Regions from separate parts of the Homo sapiens genome. Here regions 1, 2, 4 and 5 are each linked to region 3. Evidence: promoter capture Hi-C in 16 types of primary human blood cells and fetal thymus (Javierre and others, 2016). All regions are on one chromosome and are shown on one strand. Each heading gives the region's core, a stretch centred on a gene start or on the middle of the fragment in contact. The rest is flanking DNA. Distances are from core to core; before and after follow the strand shown. Region 1 overlaps LOC107984238 (a long non-coding RNA gene). Region 2 has its middle 200 kb from the start of ADO. Region 3 holds the start of NRBF2 (nuclear receptor binding factor 2). Region 4 has its middle 190 kb from the start of ADO. Region 5 has its middle 210 kb from the start of ZNF365.

Region 1 (2,700 bases), core at 154-2,653, 530 kb after region 3:
TATTTATTGTATACTTTTTAAAAGGTAATAAAGGCCAATTTCCTCTACTTGGTGACCTTTATCCTTCAGCACTCATCTCAAGCACTGTCTCCTTTCCAAAGCCTTTGTCATACTCCATAAAGCAGAGTTTGATACTTTCACCTCTAGATGCCCATACAAATGTTTCATTACTCTCTACCACACAAAATTATGTTGCATTATAATTGTCTGTGTACATCTATTTCCTCCACTGGACTGTGAACTCCTTGAGAACAAGGCATATGAATTGTTCATCATTATATTAACAAAAACCTAAACCCAGCACTGGCAAAAAATAGAAGCTCAATAAATGCTAGTTTCTGGGATGAACAGACTGGTTACTGGCAAGAGTGAAAATTAGAATCATAATGTTTTAGAGCTGGGAGAGATTATTGACAATCTAATTCATTCCCTGCATAGCTTTTCATCTAGGTTTCAGCTAGTTAGTACTTCATCTGGGTTTAAAATACAAATCTTAGGAATTCTGGCAAGATGGTAGTAGTAGTGAAATAGTTCTTTAGTTCTTAAATGCCCCATAACCACACCCCTCTCCCATAAAAATAAAACTAGGATAGCTAAGCCAAAGCCTATTGACAAACTCAAAACAAGCGAAGTGAAAAAGTACTGCCATCAACCCCGAAGTATAAGCAGATAGGGACAAAATACCAGTAATAAGACCTGTATAGTATCAGCATTTACATGGGAAGCACTGGGCATCTGACAGATCCAAGCAAAGTAGAATCTCAAAATGACCATTAGATAGAGAGATACTCACTGGAAAGCATAGTTGGCCAACTTGAGAAAAGCAGCTTAACCTGAGAGGAGTTTGTACAAACTCCAATTTGTGGGTAAGTAGAAGGACAATACAGTGATAAGTTCTGAAAGGGATGGAGTAGTCTTGGCCTTGTGAACTCTTGAAATTGACCAGCAGGGCCCGGCGTGGTGGTTCAGGCCTGTAATCCTAGGACTTTGGGAGGCCGAGGTGGGCGGATCATTTGGGGTCAGGAGTTCAAGACCAGCCTGGACAACATGGTGAAACCTTGCCTCTACTAAAAATACAAAAACTAGCCGGGTATGGTGGTGGGCACCTGTAATCCCAGCTACTTGGGAGGCTGAAGCAAGAGAATCACTTGAACCCAGGAGATGGAGGTTGCAGTGAGCCGAGATCATGCCACTGTACTCCAGCCTGGGCGACAAAGTGAGACTCTGTCTCAAAAAATAAACAAACAAACGAACAACAACAACAAAAAAAAAAAAAAAAAAGAAAGAAAGAAATTAACCAGCAGAAGCTTCCTTTCAAGACAAAGTTCCATATTGAGGAAGAACTGCTGGGAGTAGACCAAACTGAGCAGGACAGACAGCCCAGGGAGGGGCAAAGGAAAAAGATTCAGATAGAAGTGAGGGAGAAGAACAGAGCCAGGAGATAAGAAGTCAAAATTGTGAGCAAAGAAGAGAGAGCAGAGATCACATAGTAAGTATTTTAAGCTTTGAGACCTACATGGTCTTTGTCACAATGACTCAACTCTCCCATTTTATCATAAAAGTGGCCACAGATAATATGTAAACAAATAATCACGACTATATTTCTTTTTTTTTTTTTTCTTTGAGACGGAGTCTTGCTCTGTCTCCTAGGCTGAAGTGTAGTGGCGTGATCTTGGCTTACTGCAACCTCTGTCTCCTGAGTCCAAACAATTCTCCTGCCTCAGCCTCCTGAGTAGCTGGGATTACAGGCGTGTGCCACCACGCCTGGCTAGTTTTTGTATTTTTGTAGAGACGGGGTTTCACCACGTTGGCCAGGCTGGTCTTGAACTCCTGACCTCAGGTCATCCACCCGCATCAGCCTCCCAAAGTGCTGGAATTACAGGCGTGACCCACCACGCCCGGCCCTCAGGATTGTATTTCAATAAGACTTAGAAAAGCAGATGATGAGCTGAATTTAGTCCATGAGCCATGGTTTGCTAACACTGCTCTAGAGTCATGAGGTAGAAAAGCTATTCTGACCCACCCTTCCTTCCTAAAAGTTCAGTCTGCCTTCACCTAAAAATCAGCAACAGAAAAACATAGATTTGAATTCTGTACAAACTTTTTATCATAAAAAGATAATGAGGAACAAAGTAATTTTCTTACAGATGAGAGCACACCAAATAAACATGCCCACAAAGCAGGTAAAAGAGGTGAGTGAATATTTCAAAATGACTTTTTAAATTCAGGAAAAAATTAAAATATGTGAAATAATTACACAGATTAGAATTAGAATAACTTAAGAGTGAGCTGACCAAACTCAGGAAGGATTAAAACATCAAGAAGAGGCCGGGCGTGGTGACTCACACCTGTAATGCCAGCACTTTGGGAGGCTGATGCAGGCGGATCATGAGGTCAGGATTTCGAGACCAGCCTGGCCAATATGGTGAAACCCCATCTCTACTAATAAATAAATAAAAAATAAAAAAAAATTACAAATAATAGCTGGGCATGCCGGGCACAGTGGCTCATGCCTGTAATCCCAGCACTTTGGGAGGCTGAGACGGGCAGATCACCTGAGGTTGGGAGTTCGAGACCAGCCTGACCAACATGGACAAACCCTGTCTCTACTAAAAATACAAAATTAGCTGGACATGGTGGCGCATGCCTGCAATCCCAGCTACTTGGGAGGCTGAGGCAGGAGAGTCACTTGAATCCAGG
Region 2 (2,700 bases), core at 121-2,620, 530 kb before region 3:
ATCTATAAAAGAAAAAACTGGTGAACTGGACTTCATCAAAATTAAAAATTCTTGTGCTTCCAAAGACATCACTAAGAACATGGAAAAGACAATCCACAGACTAGGAGAAAACTTTGGCAAATAACATGCTGATAAGGTACTTGTGGCAGAATTTACAAAGAACTTTTACAATAAATAAGACAAAGACAACTCGATTAAAAAATAGACAAAAGTTTTAAATAGATCTTTCACCAAAAATATGCATATGGCAAACGAGCAAATGAAAAGAGACTGAACACATTTACTCATTAGGGAAATGAAAATTAAAACCACAGTGTGGTGGGATACCACCACATACCTAATAAAACAGGTTTTAGCAGTCCCTGAAAATACCAAGTGCTGTTGAGGATGCAGAACAACTGAACTCTCACAGCTTTTGCTGGTATGGCCAATCTGAAAAACAGTTCAGCAGTTTCAAAAATAAAGTTAAACATATGCTTATGGTTTGACCCAAATATCCCACTTCTAGGCAGGTACTGAAAACTTATGTTTGAACAAAAGCTCTATATAAAGGTTTATAGAGGCTTTGTTCATAATCACCAAAAGCTGGAAATAAGCCAAAGCTCATCAACTGACAAGTGAATAAATAAACTCTGGTGCATCCACACAATGAAACACTACCCAGTAATAAAAAGGAATTGACACTGTGACATGCTACAACATGGAGGAAACTCAAAGACACTGTGCTAAGTAAAGAAAAAGCAGATGCAATAGGCTATATATTATATAATTCCATTTATATAAAATGTTTAGAAAACGCAAATTTATGCACACAGAAAGTAGATTAGTGGTTGCCTGGGGCTGGGAGAAAGAGGGGAGGGTGACTGCAGATAGAAGCAAAGGATTTGTTTTGGGTGATGGAAATGTTCTAAAACTGGATGGTGGAGATGGGCGAACAACTCTGCAAATTTATTAAAAACCATTGAATTGCTCACTTGTAATAAGTGAATTTGATGGTATGTAAGTCATACTTCAACAAAGCTGTTTTTTAAAAAGTTTAACACTAAATTTAATGTGAAAGTTATTGACCTTGACATCCTGCCAGGTTAATGGTTGTTTTGTGGGGTTTTTTTTCTATTATGAGCAATAGGATATCTGTTGATAAGATTATTGGTATGGTCATATTACATTATTAATACAAACTTTGGAAATGAAAAACATATGCCTTCTAAGAATATTTTATGGAAATTACCAAATAACTGCCATATAAAATTAATGAGGATGGGTGCCAAAGGCATAAGCTTGCAAAAATCACATGAATAGCACATTTGAAGTTCTTCCAGCTGATGTGGAAATTGATGTTATAAAAACATTGAAACATTTTTATATTTACACATTGCTACTACAGACACTGAAATCATTTGTGACTTTTATCCAACTGCTTTGCAGACAAATTTGAATATTTTTGAATATAAGATTTCCAAGCTTAATGTGTATCCTTAAAGACTATCGATAATATTTCAACCTCTATAAGGCTAACTTTGTCAATTAAAAATGATAAATGGTTCTTAAGAAAATTTTCAGAAATCCTGAGATAATTTTCATTATTGTTGTATTGGTTAGGGTAAGTTAAGAGTTGTAACAAACAACTCCCAAATCTCAATGGCTAAGGACGGTAAGAGTTTATTTATTGCCTCATGTCATAGTTCAAGGAATGGAATTGCTGGGTCATATGGCAACTCTATTTTAACATTTTGAGGAGCTGCCAAACTGTTTTCAAAAGTGGTTGCATCATTTTCTAATCTTGCCAGCAATGTATGAGGATGCCAGAATCTCCACACTCTTACCAACACTTGTTATTATCTTTTTGACTTTAGCCACCCAAGTGGATATGAAGTAGTATTTCATTGTGGTTTTGAAATACATTTCTCTTAAGGCTAATGATGTTCAGCATCTTTCATATGCTGATTACCTACTTTTTATCTTCTTTGGAAATAATTTCTATTCAAGTCTGTTGTTCATTTTTGAATTCAGTTATTTTTCTTTTTACTGTTGTCTCAGTCTATTAGTGCTACTATAACAAAATACATAAGACTGGGTAATTTATAAAGAACAGAAATTTACTTCTCACAGTTCTGGAGGCTGGGAAGTCCAAGATCAAGGTGCCAGCAGGTTTGGTGCCTGGTGAGGGCCCATTCCTCATAGATGGCACCATCTAGGTAGAAAGATGCCATTAACACAGTAAAAAGGATGGAAAGACAAAAGGGGACAAACACTGTGTTCTCACATGGCAGAAGAGCAGAAGAAACAAATTTGCCTTCTCAAGCCCTTCTGTAAGGCACTAATCCATTCATATGGGCAGAACCCTCTTGACCTGATCACTTTGTAAAAGCCCTGTCTCTTCATATCACTACAACAGGAATAAGTGTCAACAAGAATTTAGGAAGGGACACACTCAAACCATAGCAATTGTTGAGTTATGAGACTTCACATCTCTGGATAAAAGTATCTTATCAAGTCTCTTAATTTGTAAACATTTTCTTTCACTCTCTGGTTGTTTTAATTTTGATGAAATGCAATATTTATCTTTTTCTTTTGTCATTATTACTTTTAGAAACCATTACCTAATGCAAGGTCACAAAGATTTGCTTTTATGTTTTCTTATAAGAGTTTTATAGTTTCAGCTATTATATTTAGGTCTACGATACATTTTAAGTTTAT
Region 3 (2,700 bases), core at 78-2,577:
CCTTAGGCCTTCCACAATCTATTCTTCACATTACAGGGAAATTAATCTTTTCAAAACTGTAAATTAAAGCAGATTATTCTCTAGCTTAATATCCTTTACTTATTTCCCAATGCACTTTGAGTAAAATTCAAATGTTTCATTGTGCACTGCAAGGACACCTATGTTTTGGAAGTTTCCTATCTCTCTGGTATCTTCTTTTGCATCTCTCTGAAATGCTGCAGCTCCCGCCACCCGACCTCCCCGCCTTTAGAGTTGAGGCATAAGACATTTCCTTTGTCGAGAAGGGTCTTTGTTTAACTGGCATTTTAAGGTTTAATCTTAAAGATTACGCCCTTAGCCAGGTGCGGTAGCTCATGCCTATAATCCCATCAGTTTGTGAGGTCCAGGAGGGCGGATCATTGAGCTCACTTGAGCTCAGCAGTTCAAGATCAGCATAGGCAACATGGCGAAACCCCATCTCTACAAAAAATACAAAAATTAACCTGGCCTGAGCACTTGTAGTTCCTAGCTACTTAAGAGACTGAGGTGTGAGGATCGCCTGGGGCAGGGGGCGGGCAGAGGGAGGTTGCAGTGAGTGGAGATTGCGTCAGCAAGACACTTTCTCAAAAAAAATCACGCCCCCCATGAAAGGCTTTCCTTTACCACCCAACTCCACCTTGGTTACTCTATCACAGCTCCCTATGTGTTCCCTTTCCAGCATAAATCACAACTATTTGTCAGTGAATTCCATGACAGAACGAACCTAGCTTTTGTTTGGCACATAATTGTTAAATGAATGCAGTATTATATTTGGCTAGACCAAAATTGTTTCCCTATCAGTTTGTGAGCAACTTGAGGGCAGAGCCCTAAATCATTCGAGTGTGCTGACCTCTAGGGGGGTTAGTCCAGTGCATGGTCTAGAATTGCTCAAATCGGCCTTTTGAAAAAATGAATCATGTACAATGATAAAGGTGTGGACAGGACCACAAGTAACGGTGTAACGATTAGCAGATTTAAGGAAAAGTCAGTCTAAAAGGAAACGTGAGAAGCTAATTGCAGAAGACAGCCATTTCAAGTCTTCAACAGCAAGGCTGTACCTCCTCACGTGACTTCAGTGTAGACTTTAAGAACCTAAACTAACGCTTCTCGCGAGAGGAAAGATTGACCGCTCGCAAGCGTACATCAGCTGGTGCCCCGCCTTCCCTGGGCCCCACCCACTGCCTGTCCTCATTCCCACCTTGAACCAGCCTTTTGCGCGTGTGACGTCATGGCGCCGTGCGTGGCCTCGGCGGTGGCGCAGGGGGCGGGCCCGCGGCGCGGCGCCGGAGGAGGAAGTGGTGAGGTTGTTGCTCCTTCAGCGCCTATCGCTGGCTCTTGGGGCGCAGAGAGGGGCCGCAGTCTCCGCGGCTGCGTCGAGCTCCCTTGCAGTCCCCTCCATGTTCCCCGGCGCCACTACTCCCCTTCCTAAGGCCGCCGCTTACCCCGGGGTCTATGGAAGTAATGGAAGGACCCCTCAACCTGGTGAGTGTCCCACAGAATATAGCGTTCGTCTTGGGTGCCTTTGCCTCAGGAGCCCGGCCCCGTCCCCGGCGCGTCGGCTAACCCTTTAGGCTGGGAGGTTGGTTTGGCAGGAGTGGTCGCAGAGGCTGTGAGGGGCTGCTAGGCAGGCCCTGGCCCAACTGCGGCTCCAGGCTAGCCACTTCAGACTTTGCCCTCCTGGGGGATCCCCGGGAAGTCCTGGCGCCCCCTGTCGCGGGGCCCCGGGCGAGGGGATGCCACCACCTGGGGCTGCCACCTCCTCTCTGGCTGGGGGAAGTCCTCTTAGCGCCACGTAGCCACCTCCCTACAGCCTGGAGAGGCACTGAAGCCGGCCAAGGCAGAAATGGTGTGATACTGGTTTTAAGTTCTAGCAGCAGGGTCTGAGTCTGAGTCGCCCCGCTTTGGAGAGGTGGAGGAGTGAATAGCCTCCTCACCCTCCACTTCCCCCTCCTCACCCTTCACTTCCCCCTCCTCACCCTCCACTTCCCCCTCCTCACCCTCCACTTCCCCCTCATTTCTCACATACATTCACATGCATAAACTGAGTCTACCGTCTTCCAAATATATTAGAGACAGCTGGGAAAAAGACAGCCGTTCCTGTATTTAGCTCAGATTCATCAATTTAGGCATCATGAAAGTGTAATAGGTGTTTGCTGTTCTCAGGAAAATGGCTGATAGCCTGTTTACTTGTGTTTTAAGGCGTTTCAGGTGTTGCAATTAAAAAACAACACAACAGAACCCCACTAACAACGGGAAGCATGAGTTCTTTTCAGACTGGCCATTGCATCTTTTAGTTTTCCAGAGAGGTTACCCATTTTGGATGTAAAAGTCAGATTACTTAAGGTTGCACACAGGAAGAACTTTTGAGTCACAGGTTTGCAATTCATTTGCGATGGTGGAATTGAAAGAAAGCTCTATAGAGGATTCTTTTCTCACATTAGAACTCTGAGTCCTAGAAGAGCAGTAGAGTCAGGTGGTTTAAGACTCTAGGTTTTGAAGCTATGCTGCTTGGATTTGAATTCTAACCTCGTCACTTGATATCTGTGTTACCTTGGGCAAACTACTTGGCTTCACTCGGCTTCAGGTTTTTTGGGAGGATTAAAGGAGTAAATAGGTGTAAAGCACTTAGAACTGTACTAAGTACATAGTACAGTGTAAGAGTTAGCGATTATAACCAGACCA
Region 4 (2,700 bases), core at 83-2,582, 520 kb before region 3:
ATACCTACTATTTGCAAAGAATTGTTCTGAGCAAGACTGACAAGATCCCTGTCTTTGTGGGGCTTGTGCAAAGAGGAGGATTTGAAGGGCTAAGTGGAGAGGAAGAAGGGAAAGGATATTTCAGGTGTGGAGTGTGTATCTAGAATCATTTCCTTAAAGGAATCTGGCTCAACCTCAGGCACCTACAAAGCCACCTCCTTTCTGCCTCCAGTATTTCCTTCCTTCGCCTTCCTTCCTTCCTTCCTTCCTTCCTTCCTTCCTTCCTTCCTTCCTTCCTTCACTTTGTCACCCAAGCTAGAGGCCAGTGGGGTGATCTCGGCTCACTGCAACCTCCGCCTCCTGGGTTCAAGTGATTCTCCTGCCTCAGCCTCCCTAGTAGCTGGGATTACAGGCCTGCACCACCATGCCCGGCTAATTTTTGTATTTTTAGTAGAGGCATGATTTTGCCATGTTGGCCAGGGTGATCTCGAACTCCTGACCTCAAGTGATCTGCCCACTGCGGCCTCCCAAAGTGCTGGGATTACAGGCATGAGCCACCACGCCCGGCTAGCCTCCAGTATTTTCTTGTACTACTTCTCATATGCAGTTCCACCACTCCTTGCTTTGCTCGTTCTGATTTCCTGGCTCCCCCATAATATCCTCTTCCCCCTTGGCCACTCAGCCCTGCTCTGCCATGCCCATCTAGGCCATACTGTTCTAAAGACCGCATCTGTGAGAGGCCCTGAGGTAGCATGCTTTGTAAAACCCTTGTAGGAATTACCCCCAGCTGAGCTGCTCTCTATCCACCCATCTCCTTACAGGAGAAGAGCAATTAGATGTCGAAAATGCCAGAAGGATTGATTGACAATGACAGAACCCACATGTTGGAGTGAGAATTATCTAGATTTGTCTGCTGATTCACACACACACACACACACACACACACACACATCATTTGGCAATGTGTATGTATTAGATAAACCTTGATTTCCTCCATGAGAATGGAAGCTCCAAAAGCTGTGATTGTTATCTGTTTTGTTCACCAGAAGAGGATCCTGGCACAAAGTAGGCCCCAAGTATGTGCTGAGTGAATTAATCTTTGCAGGGCATGAGGAAGCCCCTCTTAGCAAGAGAGCTGCTGGGACTGAGATGCACTTTGATAAGCCTGCCACTGGGGTGGAAGGGAGCCTCCTGGGCTGGGTGCCAGCAGGTGCCCCAGTTCCAGAAGGTAGTAGGAAACCACTCTTCAGATAAGAGAAGGAGGATTTGGGTGTCACAGGAAGAAAACATCCAGGAGAGAGGAAGAAAGGAGAAGGTGAGAATTGGGCTGAGGTCTGTTTGGGGAAGAATCACAGGAAAAGAAGGCCTCACTGAAGGCCCTCAGAAAAGGGCTTGGGAGGAGAAGAAGTGTGTTCAACACACTTTACCCGGTTTCAAGTATTGTATGATAAGAACTTCCTCACCCAGCTTCCCTGCAGGACTATCAATAACCAGCCCCCCCACCCCCACCCCCGCCCCGCCCTGCAACACACATAGTATTTCTTAATACTTTAGTGCAGACAGAGTTTGAATTGGTGGAGAGCAGAGAAGAGCTTAGAGAGGAGGGCAGTGACAGCTGACAGCTTGTGGGTTCTGATACAAACTCATAGGTGCTCCTCTGTGGCCTGCCAGTGACCACCAGGCAGTGTTATGAACAGACGTTGCCACGGCCCAGCGTGGCTGTCCTTGCAGACTCTTTCCTGTATCCCACAGTGCTATTCCCGGTGCTGTTGGACTCGCACGGATGTTGTCCTTGTTTTAGGATCCTCCTTCCTATTTGAAGTCATTAGACTCAGTCTCTGCTAATGTGTTTGCTCTTAGGTGCCATGTGCTTATCAGTAGGATTTGAGGCTTAAATGATTTTTCAAATATGTTCCAAAACACACTGGCTGCTAGTCTATTATTTAACCCAGAAATGACTTCTCTGTCTAAGATGAACGCCCCATGGCTTCTTGCTAACTGTACTGCCTGCACCCTGCAATGATTGGAAAGCTAGAGCTTCTCCTTTTGGCAGATGGAGTCACTTCCTGATTGGGGTCCATTTGGAACTGAGATCCTCATCTTATAGCACCATAACTCTTCCTGCTTGAAGCCCTGAAATGTCTGTTTTTGCAGCAAAGTCGCACGAGAGTTTTCTTAACCATTCTAGTCCCAGTAACAAGGACGGCCTTCGGAACCTGCTTCAAACAATACCCGAAGATCCACCAGTGTGCCCTGGGGGCATTTCTGTGTGCCCTGGGACAGAACACCACGTGGTAAATGAATGGACTAGTTCAAGTTATAAACTTAAGTTTGATTCAAAGAGAAGCAAATCTTAAATTAATAGGCAATCTGAACTAGAAGTTCAATTATTCTCATCCCCCCCAATACACACATACATGAGCAGCACTGCTTTCATTCGTTCCTGTGAGCCTGGGGCATCATTGTCTGAGATGCTGTTGTGTACGTTTCCCAGACTGTGAGTCTCCGGATCTAGACTCCAAGCTGGCGGTGCCTGGGGGCCACATGGAGCCTTTTCAGAACCCATGCTCCAGACTCTTCTGCATGATATAATCCTGCAGTAAGGAGAGCAAAACCCCAGGGAAGCCACTCAGCTTTCCCAGTGTGGCTAAGTAAAATTCCATGCTGAAAAAATGGGGTGTCACCCACAGACAGACAACAGATGAGACCTCTGAGTGTATC
Region 5 (2,700 bases), core at 129-2,628, 550 kb before region 3:
TTTGGAGACTTGACATTCCCTTACTCTTAACCTACATGGACCCCAAACCCAGTCCTGACCAACTAGAGCATTCCATCCCCTGGCCACAGTGACTAATTCAGGGCTGGAAGTGTGATGCAAACAGGCAATGAAGCCCCATTCCAGGATCTTCAGAAAACTCTTGGGATCTCTTTCTCCTGTGGTTGCTCAGCTGGGAAGATGTCTCACCATTCATCTTGCCATCTCATGGGGATGGTCTGCCTGAAAATGAAACCAATCAGAGACTACAGAGCCAAGACTACAGAGCCAAGTGATTAGAGAGAACCCATAGTGAAGACCATGGATGAGCTCCTGGCCCAGATGCTGGGCCTTTTTTGCTTAAGTTAAGTTGAACTGGCTTCTGTCACTTGCCACTAGAGGAAACCTCACTGATAAAGAGTTAACTGTGTCATTTATTGAGCACTGCTTGTGTGCCAGGCACCAGAATAAGTATGTTAACAGACATAGTCTCATTTAATCCACACAACAGACCTGTATTTGCTGCAATTGTGCAGATGAGGAGACGGGGATTTGAAGAGGTTAAGTAATTCTGAGGCTATCCAGCTTGTACGGAACACTAGAGCCTCTGCACTGGTAATATTGATAAGGTTGAATTTAGCAACATGGGCTTGGGACATTAACTCAGAAATATTCAGGCTAGAGGGATGCCATTGGCTAGTCACTAGGGCCCTGAAAGCATCAATTTAGGCATCCTGGAGCATCCATCGTCTTTGTGGAGCTGGTTTTGGCAGAGCCGGCCATAGATGAAATCAAAGCCAGGCAGGATTTTGCTTATGTAGCCATGGGGCCAGTTAGATCCTGGAATTCTCCATGGGGAACAAGAGTGAGGACAGTCAGTTCCAAGACTTCTGTGAAAAGACAGTATGTATATCAGGCTACAAATAGTTCCTTCACTCCTGAGAGAATTAAGGGACCTCCTTAGGGTCTTGAGCTAAGCCCAAATTGAGTTAAATAACTGGCGAGAAGATGAGGCAGAGGTTCACCCTAGAGTCCATCCCAGCCAGCATTTGTGGCTTGCAATTGATTTGTCATGGTCTGGCCCAGGGCGAGGTGAGGTCATTGTTGTGAAGGTAAAAAATGATCCAAATGCATTCACCATGCCAGGCCTGGGCCTACTCGCCCTCATATCTATTCCTTGCCCTTCCTCTGCTCTGCCTTGCTGTGGGGCTGACCCCTGCAGGCTGCCTTCCCCAGGTTCCTGTGTGAGATGGCTTCTGCCTGGTGCAGTCAACAACAGGCACTGGTGAGGCATTGGCAGTGGGGAGTGAGGGTAAGTTTGGGTGTTTCTCCCTCTCATTCTCTGCCTCAAACTCATTCTCCAGCAACAGCTGGGTCTCCTCCATAGCTCCAGATTCCACAGATCAGACCCACCTTGGTTCCACCTCTGCCTCCTCACCCCAGCCTCAGTGCCTCTGGAAATGCTGCTTTCAACCTAGGAGCTATGGAGGGCCTCCTGCTGGTGCTCATCTCCGGGTCATTGGATTGTCCTTCCTTGGCATCTCAGCTCTTCTATCACCTCTGTAACTAATTTCTGTTGGAAATGCTTGTAGCATTTCTTGTTTTCTTGGTTTGCCAAAGGCTCAAAATGCAACCCCTTCTTGAGAGCAGCAACCCTACCTTTGAGCACGCTCCTGTAGTAGGTGCTTAAAAATAAGTAGGTTGCTTAGTTGGTTGATGGAACTTCTTGCCAGCCTAACCCATCCATTCGTATGTTCTGCTTTCACAGAACTGCTCAGTGGAATCAGAGATCCTGTTTTCAGCCTTCTTTTAGTGGGCTGGTCCTTTTGACTTCCTACTTACTCCTTTGCAGGCTGGTAGGAGCTGAGCAATAGGAGTCTTTCCTGAAAATCTTTCCATCTTCTCAGTAATCATATTAAGTATCTGATTTTGTGTAGGCTGGCCAGAGAAAACATACTTCCCTTTCCACTGAAGGCAAGGCATCTCATCATGACTCCTTGCTGCAATTGCTTTTTTTTTTTAATTTAAGAGACAAGTCTGATTTACACTGAAAATGGTGGTTGTGGTTTATGGACTTAGCATACTAATTCCCATTTAATGCAGCAAACTTCAGGGGTAGGTTTTCATCTGAATGGAGATGAGTCACCGTATTCTTCAACCATATATTGAAAAATACCCACCGTTAGTTAAAAAACATTTCTTTTAAGCCATTTCTTCAGAGTAAAGTCAACTTGAATTCCTTGTTTGTGTGCCTGAGAGGGTCAGGAAATTCATCTTTAGCCTCAGCCTTACACATCTGCCCACCCTAGCCTCCAGAACTCCACATTTCCTATCCAAATCTTTCTTGTTGGTTTATTTGAACATCCCTCAGGAAGGAACCCAGAAGGTTCCACTTGGGCATGTGGGGTCATCGGCGCAGCTGACTCGAGTTGGCTGAGCCAACAGTGCTACTTTGGTGGAGTGTTTTGTTGGCTGGATCATCTGCAACGGGGGTTGGCCAGCGCGGGAGAACTTGGGAGTGTCCACAGGAAGTGGATATTTCCTGACCAGCTCATCCCCTGCTGACTCTCCAGCATTTTCTTGTCTACAACTAAAACGTTTTGCCTTGTATGTTCCTGCCCAAGGCCTCTTGAGACAGTGGGTGGTTTTTTTTTCTTTTATTTTTCAACTTGTGCCAAATGTGTCAGGAGTTAAGTCCATAAT

What was found. Contacts are between HindIII fragments. The CHiCAGO score rates a contact against its expected background, and 5 or more counts as called.
Region 1: a contact is called between a fragment that was not itself captured here and the fragment with the promoter of NRBF2 in region 3, in 1 of 17 cell types (naive CD8 T cells). The highest score is 6.1, in naive CD8 T cells.
Region 2: a contact is called between a fragment that was not itself captured here and the fragment with the promoter of NRBF2 in region 3, in 3 of 17 cell types (total CD8 T cells, naive CD8 T cells and naive CD4 T cells). The highest score is 7.2, in total CD8 T cells.
Region 4: a contact is called between a fragment that was not itself captured here and the fragment with the promoter of NRBF2 in region 3, in 1 of 17 cell types (neutrophils). The highest score is 6.5, in neutrophils.
Region 5: a fragment that was not itself captured here is called in contact with the fragment with the promoter of NRBF2 in region 3 in 2 of 17 cell types (M1 macrophages and activated CD4 T cells); the score reaches 5.4 in M1 macrophages.

Annotation. Positions count from the first base shown.
Region 1 is chr10:63,659,212-63,661,911 of GRCh38, forward strand. All of the region lies in intron 2 of LOC107984238 (a long non-coding RNA gene), which reads right to left. Among named protein-coding and RNA genes, the nearest start is that of REEP3, 140 kb to the left of the region's middle. The HindIII fragment of the contact is 196 bases long and covers 1,306-1,501 here.
Region 2 is chr10:62,599,037-62,601,736 of GRCh38, forward strand. No RefSeq gene overlaps it. Among named protein-coding and RNA genes, the nearest start is that of ADO, 200 kb to the right of the region's middle. The HindIII fragment of the contact is 184 bases long and covers 1,279-1,462 here.
Region 3 is chr10:63,132,001-63,134,700 of GRCh38, forward strand. It overlaps NRBF2 (nuclear receptor binding factor 2), which reads left to right and starts at 1,328. Exons shown (of 4, transcript NM_030759.5): 1 at 1,328-1,500. The coding sequence starts at 1,471. RefSeq lists silencers at 1,145-1,394, 1,605-1,874. The HindIII fragment of the contact is 9,214 bases long and covers 1-2,700 here.
Region 4 is chr10:62,616,251-62,618,950 of GRCh38, forward strand. No RefSeq gene overlaps it. Among named protein-coding and RNA genes, the nearest start is that of ADO, 190 kb to the right of the region's middle. The HindIII fragment of the contact is 2,782 bases long and covers 1-2,700 here.
Region 5 is chr10:62,580,447-62,583,146 of GRCh38, forward strand. No RefSeq gene overlaps it. Among named protein-coding and RNA genes, the nearest start is that of ZNF365, 210 kb to the left of the region's middle. The HindIII fragment of the contact is 3,790 bases long and covers 1-2,700 here.